5 separate regions of the Homo sapiens genome follow, and regions 2, 3, 4 and 5 are each linked to region 1. Evidence: promoter capture Hi-C in 16 types of primary human blood cells and fetal thymus (Javierre and others, 2016). All regions are on one chromosome and are shown on one strand. Each heading gives the region's core, a stretch centred on a gene start or on the middle of the fragment in contact. The rest is flanking DNA. Distances are from core to core; before and after follow the strand shown.

Region 1 (2,905 bases), core at 130-2,629:
GCAAAGCCTTAACAACTTTTATATTCCAAATACTCAGCACGATTTATTTATTTCCTTTTTAGAAAGAGATGAAACAATGATGCCGTGGAAGGTTAAAAAAAGAGTAACATAAAATGTGCTGGAAACAGAAATTACTTGGAGAAATTACTTGTTTAATTCAAATGAATTAAACGAGATATAGTCTACAAAGAAGTCTGGGCTCCCTATTACTGGTTGATGCTGAAAATCTATCTAAGGAATTCAGAGTAACATTGTCTCCCTTCTATTTGGGTACGTATAAAATAAATGTAGTCTTAAGTATTTTCTAAAAACGAGACCATATTACATGTTTATCATTAAATGTTATTTTTAAAAACATTTGGACAAAATCTTTTGAGTGGCTTCAAATTCACCAAAGATTCCCTAACGTTTTGTGTTTACAAATATATGTATATATTTTATAATATATATTTCTAATATGTAATATATTTATAAATATTTTAAAACATATTTTATACATATAAAATATATATTTTTGCAAATATATATGCTTATTATTAAAACCTATCTTTGTGCGCCTGTTACATAGGGAACTCCTATAAGATACTAGAGGAAACAAACAAGGGGAAGGGGAGGATGGATACCAAGAGAGGAAATTGAATTGTACAAAGGGTTTTTATTAATTCCATCTATTTTTAAAGCCAGAAAGACATACTACCAGCTTGCTGTCTCCCGGCACAAACATGCGCGCGCGCGCACACACACACACAAACACAGACAGGCTACATCAGCACGGGATTCCTGCGATCCCTCCCCGCCCCCCGCAGCCCCCTCCCCGCCCCCCGCAGCCCCCTCCCCGCCCCCCGCAGCCCCCTCCCCGCCCCCCGCAGCCCCCTCCCCGCCCCCCGCAGCCCCCTCCCCTGGCGCAGGCAGCCGCGTCCGTCCTTCCCGCGGTAGCTCCGCGCACTTCCTCGCGACCGCATCACCTACCTTGCTGGGAGCTCAAGACAGATGCCGGACAGGGCTGCTGCTCCGAAGGAAAAGGCTCCCAGGACCAGCAGTAAGAAAACGCAAAGAAAAAAAGGTGGTAGTGAGGCTCCTTTACTTTCCACAACAAGGGGAAGTGTTGAACTCTATGCACTGGGCTGCTCCGCAGCGCGGGTTTCGGAGGAAATAGGCGGCCGAGAGAGCTGCGCCTGCGATGGGAAGTTGGGGGGATTCCCCCAGCCACCCAGCCACCCCCGCCAGGCTCCTCTCTGGTCCCCGCCGCAGCCTTGACAGCTCCCCTGGTCTCCGAGCCCCTCCAGAGCCCTGCTGGTTTCCACCCGGAGCTGGGCTGTGTTGCCACATGCACTTGAGAAATCCTAGCAGTTGCGCAAAGAGTCCCAGAAGTTAGAAAGGGTGATTGTGTGTGAATGTGTAAATATACAGTACAAGAGGCTGGAACAACTGAGTGGGGCCAACCCTCAGACACAGCTCGAGGTTTCAGATTTCATTTGGCAACTGGTAGCTTCACAGGACTCGAGCCGCACTACAGGGGAGGCCGGCAGGAGCCCCGCCCTCCCAAAGCCTGGGTTATCTGAGAGCTGGAGCTACACCGCCTGGCGCCACTGACAGAATGCGCCCTGCCTGGTTCCTCCGCATCTGGCATCGCTCGTTCCTTTCAAGTGCATCATAGATACTTGTTGGCCACAGATCTGGGGCTGTGGGCGCGAGAAGGTTGGTGAATACATGTCTCCTGCCCTCAAGGAGCTCTGCATTTCATTGGCCAAACCCCATACACCGGTTTTACTTGCTTCTACCAACTCTGTCTCGCTAACATTTTATTTCTCCAATTAGAATTACCTGGGCCATTAAAGCAATATTCCTGGAAATGCACATTTAGATGGATGCTCTCTAACTAGAGCCTTAGAGAAATTCAAAGTATAATTACTTTCTTACGGTGGTGTAAGAACTCTCGGAGTTACACAATATGGGACAAAAGGACAAACTAGTAAACATTGTTTTGATGCAGGCCGTCTCTTCCCACCATCACCACAATGTCTGTTTCAAATTGTGATCTTACAGTTCTGGTTACCTGGCATGCTGAGTCAAATTATTTCAAAAAGCTTTGTAAAGATCTCTGTTTTAGAAACCCACTTACAGTGGATCAGTCATGCAATCCTAGCACTTTGGAAGGCTGAGGCAGGAGGATCGCTTGAGCCCAGGGGTTTCAGACCAAAATTGGCAACATAATGAGACTCCTGTCTCTATAAAAAAAAAATTAAAAAAATAAAAAAAAAGTTGGGCGTGGCGGCGTATGTCTGTAGTCCCAGCTACTCAGGAGGCTGAAGCGGGAAAATCCCTTGAGCCCAGGAGGTCAAGGCTGCAGTGAGCTATAATTGTGCCAGCGCACTCCAGCCTAGGTGACGGAGTGACACCCCCGTCTCGAACAATTACTACTGCTACTACTAATAAAAGAAACTCTCTTTTAGAAATCATCACCAGATATCCTTAAGACACAGAATGGGGGTGTCCTCACTAGGGATCTCCAGTGAGAGAGGGATATGGAAGAAGAGCAAATGTTTAGTTTTAGAAACACCAAAAATAAAAGGCTGAGTGGACACTGATATGTTTTTCCTTTTTGTCCTCTTTCTCCAAGTTCTTGGAGAAACGAATCTACCCCATCCCATGCTGAGGTCCTACTATAAACTTGATTTTCTGGTGGGAGAATTCTCAGCCCTTTAATGAATCAAATTAATTTGTGTGGGGAAAAAATTGCGTTTCATATTTCATTTTAAAAATATGTATGGAATTCCTAAGCTAGAAGTAATGTAGCTTATTTTCCAATTGGTGGGAATAAATTACCTTCATCAACCCACATGGCCTTACATGTTCTAGCAACACCCTAGCAGGTGAATGCTGATGGGCAGTTTCAGATGAAAGC
Region 2 (2,905 bases), core at 300-2,799, 350 kb after region 1:
GAAAGTGGGCCTCTTTGTCTTGTTCCAGTTCCAGGGGGAATGCTTTCAACTTTTCCCTGTTCAGTATAATGTTGACTGTGGGTTTGTCGTAGATGGCTTTTATTCCCCAAAGACTTCATGACCAAAGACCCAAATGCAAATGCAACAAAAACCAAGATCAACAGATAGGGCTTAATTTAAAAAGCTTCTGCACAGCAAAAGAAGCAATCAGCAGAGTTAACAGACAACCCACAGAGTAGGAGAAAATCTTCACAGTCTATACATCTGACAAAGGAATACTATTCAGAATCTACAAAGAACTCAAACAAATCAGCAAGAAAAAAAACAATCCCATCAAAAAAAAAGTGGGCTGAGGACATGAGTAGACAATTCTCAAAAGAAGATATACAAATGACCAAAAAGCATGTGGGAAAATGCTCAACATTACTAATTATCAGGGAAATGCAAATCAAAGCCACAATGTGATACCACATTACTCCTGCAAAACTGGTCATAATCAAAAATTCAAAAAATAGATGTTGGCATGGATGTGGTGAAAAGGGAATACTGTTACATTTTGGTTGGGAATGAAAACTAGTACAACCATTATGGAAAACAGTGTGGAGATTCCTTAAAGAACTAAAAGTAGATATATTATTTAATCCAGCAATTCCACTACTTGGTATCTACCCAGAGAAAAAGAAGCATTATATAAAAAAAAAACTTGCACTTGCATGTTTATAGCAGCACAATTCACAATTGCAAAAATATGGAACAAGCCCAAATGTCCATCAATCCACAAGTAGATAAAGAAAATGTGGTATGTATATGTGTGTGTGTGTGTGTGTGTGTGTGTGTGTGTGTCATGGAATACTACTCAGCCACAAAAAAGAATAAGATAATGGCATTCACAGCAACCTGGATGGAATTGGAGACCATTATTTTAAGCGAAGTAACTCAGGAGTGGAAAACCAAACATCATATGTTCTCACTCATAAGTAGGAGGTAAGCTATAAAGGCACAAAGACATAAGAATAATACAATGGACTTTGGAGACTTGGGGGAAAGAGTGGGAGTGGGGTGAAGGATAAAAGACTACACACTGGGTACAGTGTATACTGCTTGGGTGATGGGTGCACCAAAATCTCAGAAATCACCACTGAAGAATTTACTCATGTAACCAAACACTATCTGTTCCCCAAAAACCTATTGAATTAAAAAAGAAGGTTAATAGGACCTTAGAATGTACATTTATGTAACAACTGCAGCAATATTACCTTTCAACTGAAATTAGTACTTTGGTTCTTCTGGACCACCACTGAGGGAAGAAACTGGCTATGAATTGCTCATAAATTCATCAGTACAAAATAAAGTCTTGAAAGTCTATTTTTGGTCACAGCACTTGCATTTTCAGTAGCCACTAGATGAGTGCTTGGCCCTCTATTAAAGTATGATTTTAAATAGATATATATACCTAGTATGTATCCATAAAAATTAAAAATTAAATTTAAAAAGAATTAAAAATAGAGAAATGAATTACCAAATAGATGAGAAGACTATGAACCAGCCAATTATCTTTATTATTATTTACTTTTAAAAACTTTCCCTAAGCTGCAAAGGTTACTAAAAAAAATTCACTTTACTGCACCATAAGCACCGGTATCATATGTGAATTTCATTACAAAATTATAATATGAATTGTTATGATGTAAATACACCTAATTTAACATTGGGCATATACAGATCCTTGATATAAAAGAAGCCAAAAGACTTGGAATTTTTCTGTTCCCTCATGCGGCAGACAGAACCACCCTGTGTCAGATCCAGAAAGAAACCAAATGGTTTGGTAGTCCAACCTAGTGGTAGGAGGAGTAGTACTACCAGGAGTAATACTAGTAGTAGTATTATTGTCTAGTGTTTAGTATAAAAGTATTATATGCTACTCTCCATAGGAAACCATCAGCAATCAATTTTTTGTGCATCTTGCCAATTTTATATAGAAATGTATATAGCTTTTTTTTTTTACACAAATGAGATTATACCATAAGTACTCTTTGTAATCCTCTATATAAAGTAAAACACATCTGGCTTTCCATTTTTCTGGATCCAAATAAAAATGACTAAGATAACATCATAGTTTAAAATTATATACATTCAGAGGCTAAGTGACATCTCCCTGCCATTAAAATTTCATATTAATAGTTTAGTTCAGGACTAGTCGCTCTTACTCAATTTATCTTACAATGTCACTTACCCATGCTTTCTGCATCTTTTATTTCAACTAGTTAATTTTCTGGATGCTGGTTGTGACCTTAAAATTAATGCAATTAAATTTAATTTTGTTTGATTTTTTTCATGCTTGGAGATGGACCAATTTCTAGTCTGTCATCATTCTTTGGAATGCAGGTCCTGCCATCCAACTGAGCACTCTCCCCTTAAGTTTTGGACCATGTGTGAGTATGCTGCACATATCCTGACATGGCACATTTTGCTTATGCATGACGACTGGATTCCTCAGAACACTAGAAACACAGCTCAAATGTCACAAAAATAGAATCTTACAAAGTGTGACTATAAAGTAATATATTGAGTTTTGGCAATGTAACTGGAAAACCTGTGTAGCCTCTCCAGATTTGTGCTTTTGAATGTATTTGTTCTTACAGGTTTGCATTAAAGTTATTCAAATTAACTGAATATGTATACCTCATTTATTGATGACCCAGTCAACCAACATGTCATTATTAAGAGACAACCTACTGGGTACTGTACTAGTAACTGTGAAGTCTGACACTTGGTAAGTAAAACATTAATAAATAAAAGACAAGATCTTTGTTTGAGCCCAGCCAAGGTGGGAACAAAGGCTGTTAACATTTGGATACAATTCAAGAGGAGAAATCAGACCACTGTCTATGAGCACAGAGCTATC
Region 3 (2,905 bases), core at 142-2,641, 310 kb after region 1:
CCAACATACATGACAATGACAATCATAAAATGCAATGCAAGATGGTATTTACACCTAAGGAAAGAAAAAGAAAGGAAGAAGAAAACAGGATGAGGAAGAAATAAGCAACGATTCAACAGTGACCACTATAATTTATTTCATCAAAAGTACTGAGGCAAAGATGGCCAAACAGGAACAGCTCTGGTCTACAGCTCCCAGCAAGATCAACACAAAAGGTGGGTGATTTCTGCATCTCCAACTGAGGTACCTGGTTCATCTCATTGGGACTGGTTGGACAGTGGGTGCAGCCCATGGCGGGTGAGCCAAAGCAGGGCAGGGCATCGCCTCACCCAGGAAGTGCAAGGGGTCAGGAGATTTCCCTTTCCTAGACAAGGGAAGCTGTGAGAGACTATACTAGGAGGACAGTACACTCCTGCCCAGATACTGCACTTTTCCCACAGTCTTCACAACTGGCAGACCAGGAGATTCCCTCTGGTGCTTGGCTCAGTGGGTCTCACACCCACGGAACCCAGCAAGCTAAGATCCATTGGCTTGAAATGCTCGTTGCTTGTGTGGCAGTCTGAGATTGACCTGGGACGCTCAAGCTTGGTGGGGGAGGGGTGTCTGCCATTGCTGAGGCTTGAGTAGGCAGTTTTATGATCACAGTGTAAACAAAGCCACTGGGAAATTTGAACTGGGCAGGGCCCACCACAGCTTAGCAAGGCCAACTGCTTCTCTAGATTCCACCTCTGTGAGCAGGGCATCTCTGAAGAAAAGTCAGCAGCCCCAGTCAGGGACTTATAGAAAAAAACTCCCATCTCTCTGGGACAGAGCACCCGGGGTAAGGGGCAGCTGTGGGAGTAGCTTCAGCACACTTAAATGTCCCTGCCTGACAGCTCTGAAGAAAGCAGTGATCCTCCCAGCAGAGCGTTCGAGCTCCGATAACAGACAGACTGCCTCCTCAAGTGGGTCCCTGACCCCCCATGTAGCTGGACTGGGAGACACTTCCTAGTGGGGGCTGATAGACACCTCATACAGGAGAGCTCTGGCTGGCATCTGTGGGTGCCCCTCTGGGACAAAGCTTCCAGAGGAAGGATCAGGCAGCAATAGTTGCTGTTGTGCAGCCTCTGCTGGTGATACCCAGGTAAACCAGGTCTGGAGTGGACCTCCAGCAAACTCCTTCAGACATGCAGCTGAGGGGCCTGACTGTTAGAAGGAAAACTAACAAACAAAAAGGAATACCATCAACATCAACAAAACGGACATAAAAATCAAAACCCCACCAGTAGGTCACCAACATCAAAGACCAAAGGTAGATAAAACCACAAAGATGGGTAGAAACCAGTGAATAAAGACTAAAAATTCCAAAAACCACAATGCCTCTTCTCTCCAAAGGATCACAACTCCTTGCCAGCAAGGGAAAAAAACTGGATGGAGACTGAGTTAGACGAATTGACAGAAGTAGGCTTCAGAAGCTGAGTAATAACAAACTCCTCTGAGCTAAAGGAGCATGTTCTAATCCAATGCAAGAAAGCTAAAAACCTTGAAAAAAGGTTAGATGAATTGCTAACTGGAATAACCAGTGTAGCAATGAATATAAACGACCTGATGGAGATGAAAAATGCAGCACAACAACTTCGTGAAGCATACACAAGTTCCAATAGCTGAATTGATCAAGTGGAAGAAACGATTATCAGTGATTGAAGACCAACGTAATGAAATAGAGCAAGAAGACAAGCTTAGAGAAAAAAGAGTGAAAAAAAAATGAACAAAGCCTTCAAGAAATATGGGACTAAGAGAAAAGACCAAATCTACATTTGATTGATATACCTGAAAGTGACGGGGAGAATGGAACCAAGCTGGAAAATACTCTTCAGGATAATATCCAGGAGAACTTCCCCCAACCTAGCAGGGCAGGCCAACACTCAAACTCAGGAAATACAGAGAACACCACAAAGATATTCCTCAAGAAGAGTAACCCCAAGACACATAATTGTCAGATTCACCAAGGTTGAAAAGAAGGAAAAAATGTTAAGGGCAGCCAGAGAAAAAGGTTGGGTTACCCACAAAGGGAAGCCCATCAGAATAACAGTGGATCGCTCTGCAGAAACCCTATCAGCCAGAAGAGAGAGGGGGCCAATATTCAACATTCTTAAAGAAAAAAATTATCAACCCAGAATTTCATATCCAGCCAAACTAAGCTTCATAAGCGAAGGGAAATAAAATCATTTACAGACAAGCAAATGCTGAGAGATTTTGTCACCACCAGGCCTGCCATACAAGAGCTCCCAAAGGAAGCACTAAATATGGAAAGGAAAAACCAGTACCAGCCACTGCAAAAACATGCCAAATTTTAAAGACTATCAACGTTATGAAGAAACTGCATCAACAAACGAGCAAAATAACCAGCTAGCATCATAATGACAGGATCAAATTCACACATAACAATATTAACCTTAAATGTAAATGGGCAAAATGCCTCAGTTAAAAGACACAGACTAGCAAATTGGATAAAGAGTCAAGACCCATCAATGTGCTGTATTCAGGAGACCCATCTCATATGCAAAGATACATACGCTCAAAATAAAGGGATGGAGGAAGATTTACCAAGCAAATGGAAAGCCCAAAAAAGCAGGGATTGCAGTCCTAGTCTCTGATAAAACAGACTTTAAACCAACAAAGGTCAAAAGAGACAAAGAAGGGTATTACATAATGGTAAAGGGATCAATGCAACAAGAAGAGCTAACTATCCTAAATATATATGCACTCAGATATATATCCTAAATATATATCCTAAATATACAGAGCACTCAGATTTATAAAGCAAGTTCTGAGACACCTACAAAGAGACTTCGACTCCCACACAATAGTAGTGGGAGACTTTAACACCCCACTGTCAATATTAGACAGATCAATGAGACAGAAA
Region 4 (2,905 bases), core at 189-2,688, 300 kb before region 1:
GTGTTTCCCAGGTCAGATCTACCAAGCTGTGATGAGTTTAGTGAGCCTTGACTGAATCAGTTAAAGTGCCTAGACTGCCCTGCCCAGGTTCTCTTGTCTGATTGGCTCCATATTAGTTCTATATTTCAAGTTGAAGATTCATTAAGCTCCCCCTCCTGCCCAGTCAAGAACATTCTGTACATTTTGTAATGCTAAAGTATATTTATCTTTATCCAACACAAGCAATAAAACACAAAAACCACACATGACAAGATACAACAAAGAAACAAACCTAAACTAAGCTTTAAAATAAAACAACAGCAACAATCATCTGGTTCCTAAAAACACTAACAAAACAAAGCAAAATCCGAGTAGTTTCAAATATCAACAGCCAGAAAATAATACAGTTAAAAAGCTAAAATATTTTCAAGGGTATATTTTCTCTCAAAATAGAGGTGAAGAGGGAGGAAAAAAAGGTCAAATGACCACTAAATACTTGTCCCCAAAACAAATGAACCCTGAAGATTTAAATGAGTAAAAACAGTACCTTATAAGTCACTGGTCTGGTCTACGCACAGCTGTTCCCAGTGCCGACTCTTGTTTAACTGTCCACTGCCTTCAGTTTAAAGTTAATTCTTTTGGCAAAAAAGTACAGAGCTTGTCTGGAAAATGCTGTTTGGACACAAACCATTCCTTTCAAAGCGGTGGTAGCTATATTTAAGTTTTCTTGTAGAAGGGGATATAAACTCTTCCTGTAGCTAATTTTCTTTCTCCTCCTTCTCAGACTTAGTCAGTATCCTCCCATCCCATATATTGAAGAAAGAGACAGAGAGGGGAAAAAAAACCTACAAGGAAATATACCTTAAATAATGTAGTATTTGAGCATTTAGAAACAAAACAAAACAAAATAAGAAATAGGAATCATAGAAAGCTCATCAGGACCTTAAATATAATTTAGCCGGGTGAACCCATTTTGTAGATAAGGGAAGTGAAACCCAGAGAAAAATATGATTTGTATAAGGTCACTCACACGGCTAGTTAGTGCCACAGTTAACAAATAACCAGGTTTCACAACTCCTGCTTCAATGCTTTTTCCACTACACTAACATACCTGAGGGGAAATAGTTTGCCTTTTCCTCTATATCCTTGCATAATAAGCAAAGGAATTGGCAGGGAGCAGTAACACAATTAGGATGTGAGAACTGTCTCAGAGAAAACATTTCCTTTGGATTTAAAATCCTTAATATTGAAACTTTCCCTTTAATCTCCAATTTCTTTGTATATTAGGAAATAATCTTTTCCTTTGCTGATTGTCCAGAATATTTTTACAACTCAGGAGCTGCCATGTTTCAAGGGATGCTAACATTTATTAGTCCTTACAGAGTACTGCTTCAGTAAGGCATGGTGCTGTGACAGGTGGCAGAATAAGTGTTCTACCTAGTATCAGTGATACTACTCCACGGCTCTTAAACTAGACACACATTTGCTATTATCACAAATCCCCACTTTCAATCTATCAAGATTTTTTGAATACACACATTTGGTTTTGATTATTGTTGATTGTATAATTTGTTAAATAAAACAGAGAAGCAACATAACAATTTTCATTGGTGTCTTTCATGTATTTCCTATTTATTGGTGAATAAATTATGTTTTTCTAACTGAAAGAGTGATGTGCTTATTATAATAATTTTTAAAATTACCTTTTTGAAATGTATTCATTCATTCATTCACTTATTTAACAAATATTTATCGAACATTCATAAGATCTATCTCATCCCTCCCACGTGAAATAGTGTAACAGACAAGCAATAGCTTCCTTAGAAAAGTAGGGAATTTTCAAATAAAATCAAAGGGTTTGCATGGGAAGTAAGGTCAATTCTCTATGACTACTTCTGTATTCATTCTCACACTTCAAACATGTGTCCTTGATTTCTTTATATCCTATCGATTGGGTTGCTCCAATCTTAAAACATCCTGCCCAGATCAAGTAAACCAAAATATGAAGTGGCCCACACTGAAATCACTCTGGCCACTATTAATCTTTCCATTTGATCTGGCTCCTTAAATTTTAAAGCAAAATCTTCTTTACACTTTGCAATTCCAAGACACAATGAGAAATGCTCAGATCATTCAAGGCCTATTTTCAAACTGTTACCTATTCTTTAATTCAGAAATGCACTGTTTGGTTTTAATATTTCTCGTCTACTTTTAAGGCATCTACTCTTGCCCTGTTCTTTGGCAGGAAGCAGTATGCTTATGACCAAATAATTATAAAATGTAATTAATATTTAAAATGACAATTAGATTTTCTGGAACACATTTTCCAAAATGTTGAGAAATTAATGGGTATGATAGCACTTTTCTAATGCTGACAAATAAGCAACTGAGATTCAAAACAGAAATGTTGAGAAAGAAATTTTGGAAAACCATGGTTTTTGACACAATGACAGCATCTTATTTTCCTTTTATTCTCATTTGATTATGTCTGTTTGAGCCCTATGCAAAGGTTAAGCAACATTAATATGTCAAATGTGACAAGAGTTGGACACATTGATACATATTACTTGCATTTGCTAAAAATATTCTGTATTTTCCTTTTACTTCTTAAGCTTTACTTTCGATATTGACAGTTTTACCTTTAGTCCATTAGAAAGAGCAGGAAGGAAATATGAGTAAGACCTTGTAAGGTAATAGGCCTTGAGGAGACATAGAGTTTTACATGGAATGAGTCAAGGTGATTCAGAGGGTTAAATGGCTGCAGGAAGGAAGGAAAGAGTGAAGAGAAGTCACAGATTGTTTAGAACAGGAGTGGGCTGAGCCATAGACAATAGATTATGGGTATTGAATTCAAGAACCAAAGTCTCCTAAAATAGGCTAAACAAAGAAGGAACTAGCAATTTTGGTGACCAGTGAAAGCAATAGG
Region 5 (2,905 bases), core at 245-2,744, 290 kb after region 1:
GAAGAGGAAATTAGAATGCAGACACACACAGAAGGAAGGCCATCTGAAGACATCAGGAGAAGTTGGTCATCTACAAGCCAAGAATAGAGGAGATGATGAAGTCTTCTTGGAGAAATTAAATTTTAAGCATCTAGTGAGATAAGGTGCAAGGTAAATTTTACAATGCAGTTGAGGCTTCTGCAGAGACAAAATCAAAACAATTAAGGGTAGACATCCATAGTGCAGAATATTCTTGACTCCCAAGAAAAACAGCTTCTCCTGAAGACTAGCTCACAAAGATTACAAACCACAAAAGGAAATAAAGCTTTTTGAAGGAGTCAGCTAAAGCAATGGAGGAATGTATACCCCAAAACTGAACATAGCAATCTCTAAAAGAGAAATTGAAGCTATGAGGCAAGAAAAGAAAGATAGGGAAAAATATACAATGATTTGTATATTCTAAAAACAATTATAAACTAACCCTTAGATGTTATGAGATTCCTTACTGAAAGAAGTTTATATTCATATATTTAAAGAATATCCAATGTATCAACATATTTATTTATAATAATTATATTATCATGATAAAATTTTAATTAAAAGTATCTAAAAGTACATGTAAAGTTATTAAAGAAAAGCTGTCAAAGGTAAAATTATCATAAATTTATTTCAAATAAATTATATATCCAATCATAAAATATGTGCATCAGAGTTGTTGGTAAATAGAGTTATGGTATTAAATTCTAGAACTCTGTGGCCCACAACCATTTTATTTTGAAAATATTGTGATTGATTAAATAATTATTTATTCTTATAATCACAAAAATACACAGTAGAAATTAAATTATAATGCTAAAGCAGGACACTTATCTTTGCTTTTCTCTAACTCCAAGAGGTTTCTCAACTTCTTAAAATGTTAGGAAAGTCTTTCTCTAAAATTTGATGATGACTATCTGTCCAGTAATGTCTTATTTGCTATATTTTTCCCCAAGAAGCCAAGTGATATCTCATGCAAACACAACTCTTGTGACTTTATGTTTATTGTGTGTGTGTGTTTATCCAGTATTGCTAGAGAGTATGTGCTAATCTTTTTAACATTAAACTTAAATTATCAAATATAAGCAAGCATTAATTATAGACCAAAAGGCATACGATACATGAGAATTTTTCTTTAAAATTGAAAGACATTCAGCAAATGTTGGAAATGGATAGCCACATGCAAAAAAATGAAGCTGGACCCTTTCCTTCAACCATTTACAAAAAGTAACTCAAACTGAATTAAAAACTCAATGTAAGAATGAAAACTATAAAACTAGTAGAAGAAAAAACAGAGCAAAATCTTCATATCATTGTGTTTGGCAATGATTTCTTGAGAGACACCAAAAGCACAGGCAACAAGTGAAACAATAAATGAATAAACGTCATCAAAATTAAAAATTTTTGTGCATCAAGGGACACCATCAATAGAGTGAAATGACAGTCTACCGAATGGGAGAAAAATATTTGCAAATTATATATCTGATAAGGGATCAACATCCAGAATATATAAAGAACTCCAACTCAACAACAAAAAAAACCCTGATTTTAAAATGGGCAAAAGACTTGAATGGACGTTTATCCAAAGAAGATATACAAAGGGCCAATAAACACATGAAAATATGTTCAATATCACTAATCATTAAGGAAATGTAAATCAAAACCATAGTGAGATCTCACTTCACATTAATTAGAATAGCTATTATCAAAAAGAGGACAATAACTTGGGGAGGATGTGCAGAAATTGGAACCCTTGTGTATTGCTGGTAGGAAGGTGAAATGGTGCAGCCACTATGGACAATGATATGGTTGCTCCTCAAAGAATTAAAAATAGAATTACTATATGACCCTGTAGTTCCACATCTGAGAATATACTCAAAAGAATTAAAGCAGGGACTTGAACAGATATTTGTATACCCATGTTCATGGCAGCATTACGTATTTATAATAGCCAAAAGGTGGAAACTAACTAACTATCCATCAACCATCAACAGAAGAATGGATAAGGAAAATATGGGATATACATATGATGAAATATTATTCAAAGTTAAAAATGAAGGAAATTCTGACACGTGCTATAACTTGGAGGAACTTTGAAAACATCATGCTACGTGAAATAAGCCATTCATAAAAGAACAAATATTGTATTATTCTACTTATATGAGGCACCTAAAGTAGTCAAATTTATAGAGATGGAAAGTAGAATGGTGTTTGCCAGGGGCTAGGGAAAGAAGCAATAGGAACTTAGTGCATAGAGGTACAGTTTCAGTTGGGGAAGATGAAAAAGTTCTGAAGATGAATGGTGATAATGGTTGCACAATAACATGAATGTACTTAATGGTATAGAGCCATACGCTTTCACATGGTTAAGACAGTAAATTTCATTTATGTATATTTAACCACAATTTTTAATGAAAAATATATTTTTAACACACATCAAAAATGTAACTGCAGTATTGTTAGGATTGAAGTAATAAATGATTATTTTTGCCATGATTTATAATACCACCAGGGCTATGGCAATGGATACATTTTCTATTCTTCTATCCTCCCACACAAACTCTGCAACCTGTGAAATAATCTGAAGGTGAAAAGCTGTTTGACATAAAAGAGGCTTAAATTTGCAATCCTTATCCAGTGGAAGTTTGAATTTGTCCTTCAAAGCTTTAACATCTTGCATACTATTTGCCACCTAATGTACATTCTTGTGACATACTTTCCCAAAAATAGATTAATTTCATCTTTATTGGGTGAACTATCCTTCTTCTAAGAAATTACATTATCAGCACTTGCAGCCTCTGTCTTCACTTTGATGTTGTGCACATTCAAACAGGCCTTGAACCTATAGAACTCGCTGTAATCTAAAGTAATAATCTTGTCAATCTCATTT

Evidence for each region. Contacts are between HindIII fragments. The CHiCAGO score rates a contact against its expected background, and 5 or more counts as called.
Region 2: a fragment that was not itself captured here is called in contact with the fragment with the promoter of ARHGAP24 in region 1 in 1 of 17 cell types (total B cells); the score reaches 5.8 in total B cells.
Region 3: a contact is called between a fragment that was not itself captured here and the fragment with the promoter of ARHGAP24 in region 1, in 2 of 17 cell types (total B cells and naive B cells). The highest score is 6.0, in total B cells.
Region 4: a fragment that was not itself captured here is called in contact with the fragment with the promoter of ARHGAP24 in region 1 in 3 of 17 cell types (total B cells, naive B cells and monocytes); the score reaches 22.7 in total B cells.
Region 5: a contact is called between a fragment that was not itself captured here and the fragment with the promoter of ARHGAP24 in region 1, in 2 of 17 cell types (naive B cells and total B cells). The highest score is 6.5, in naive B cells.

What each region holds. Positions count from the first base shown.
Region 1 is chr4:85,473,624-85,476,528 of GRCh38, reverse strand. It overlaps ARHGAP24 (Rho GTPase activating protein 24), which reads right to left and starts at 1,379. Exons shown (of 10, transcript NM_001025616.3): 1 at 970-1,379. The HindIII fragment of the contact is 5,990 bases long and covers 1-2,089 here.
Region 2 is chr4:85,122,038-85,124,942 of GRCh38, reverse strand. No RefSeq gene overlaps it. Among named protein-coding and RNA genes, the nearest start is that of WDFY3, 160 kb to the right of the region's middle. The HindIII fragment of the contact is 2,725 bases long and covers 187-2,905 here.
Region 3 is chr4:85,164,216-85,167,120 of GRCh38, reverse strand. No RefSeq gene overlaps it. Among named protein-coding and RNA genes, the nearest start is that of WDFY3, 200 kb to the right of the region's middle. RefSeq lists an enhancer at 1-465. The HindIII fragment of the contact is 657 bases long and covers 1,063-1,719 here.
Region 4 is chr4:85,776,587-85,779,491 of GRCh38, reverse strand. All of the region lies in intron 3 of ARHGAP24 (Rho GTPase activating protein 24), which reads right to left. Among named protein-coding and RNA genes, the nearest start is that of MIR4451, 56 kb to the right of the region's middle. The HindIII fragment of the contact is 2,310 bases long and covers 284-2,593 here.
Region 5 is chr4:85,182,248-85,185,152 of GRCh38, reverse strand. No RefSeq gene overlaps it. Among named protein-coding and RNA genes, the nearest start is that of WDFY3, 220 kb to the right of the region's middle. The HindIII fragment of the contact is 2,375 bases long and covers 307-2,681 here.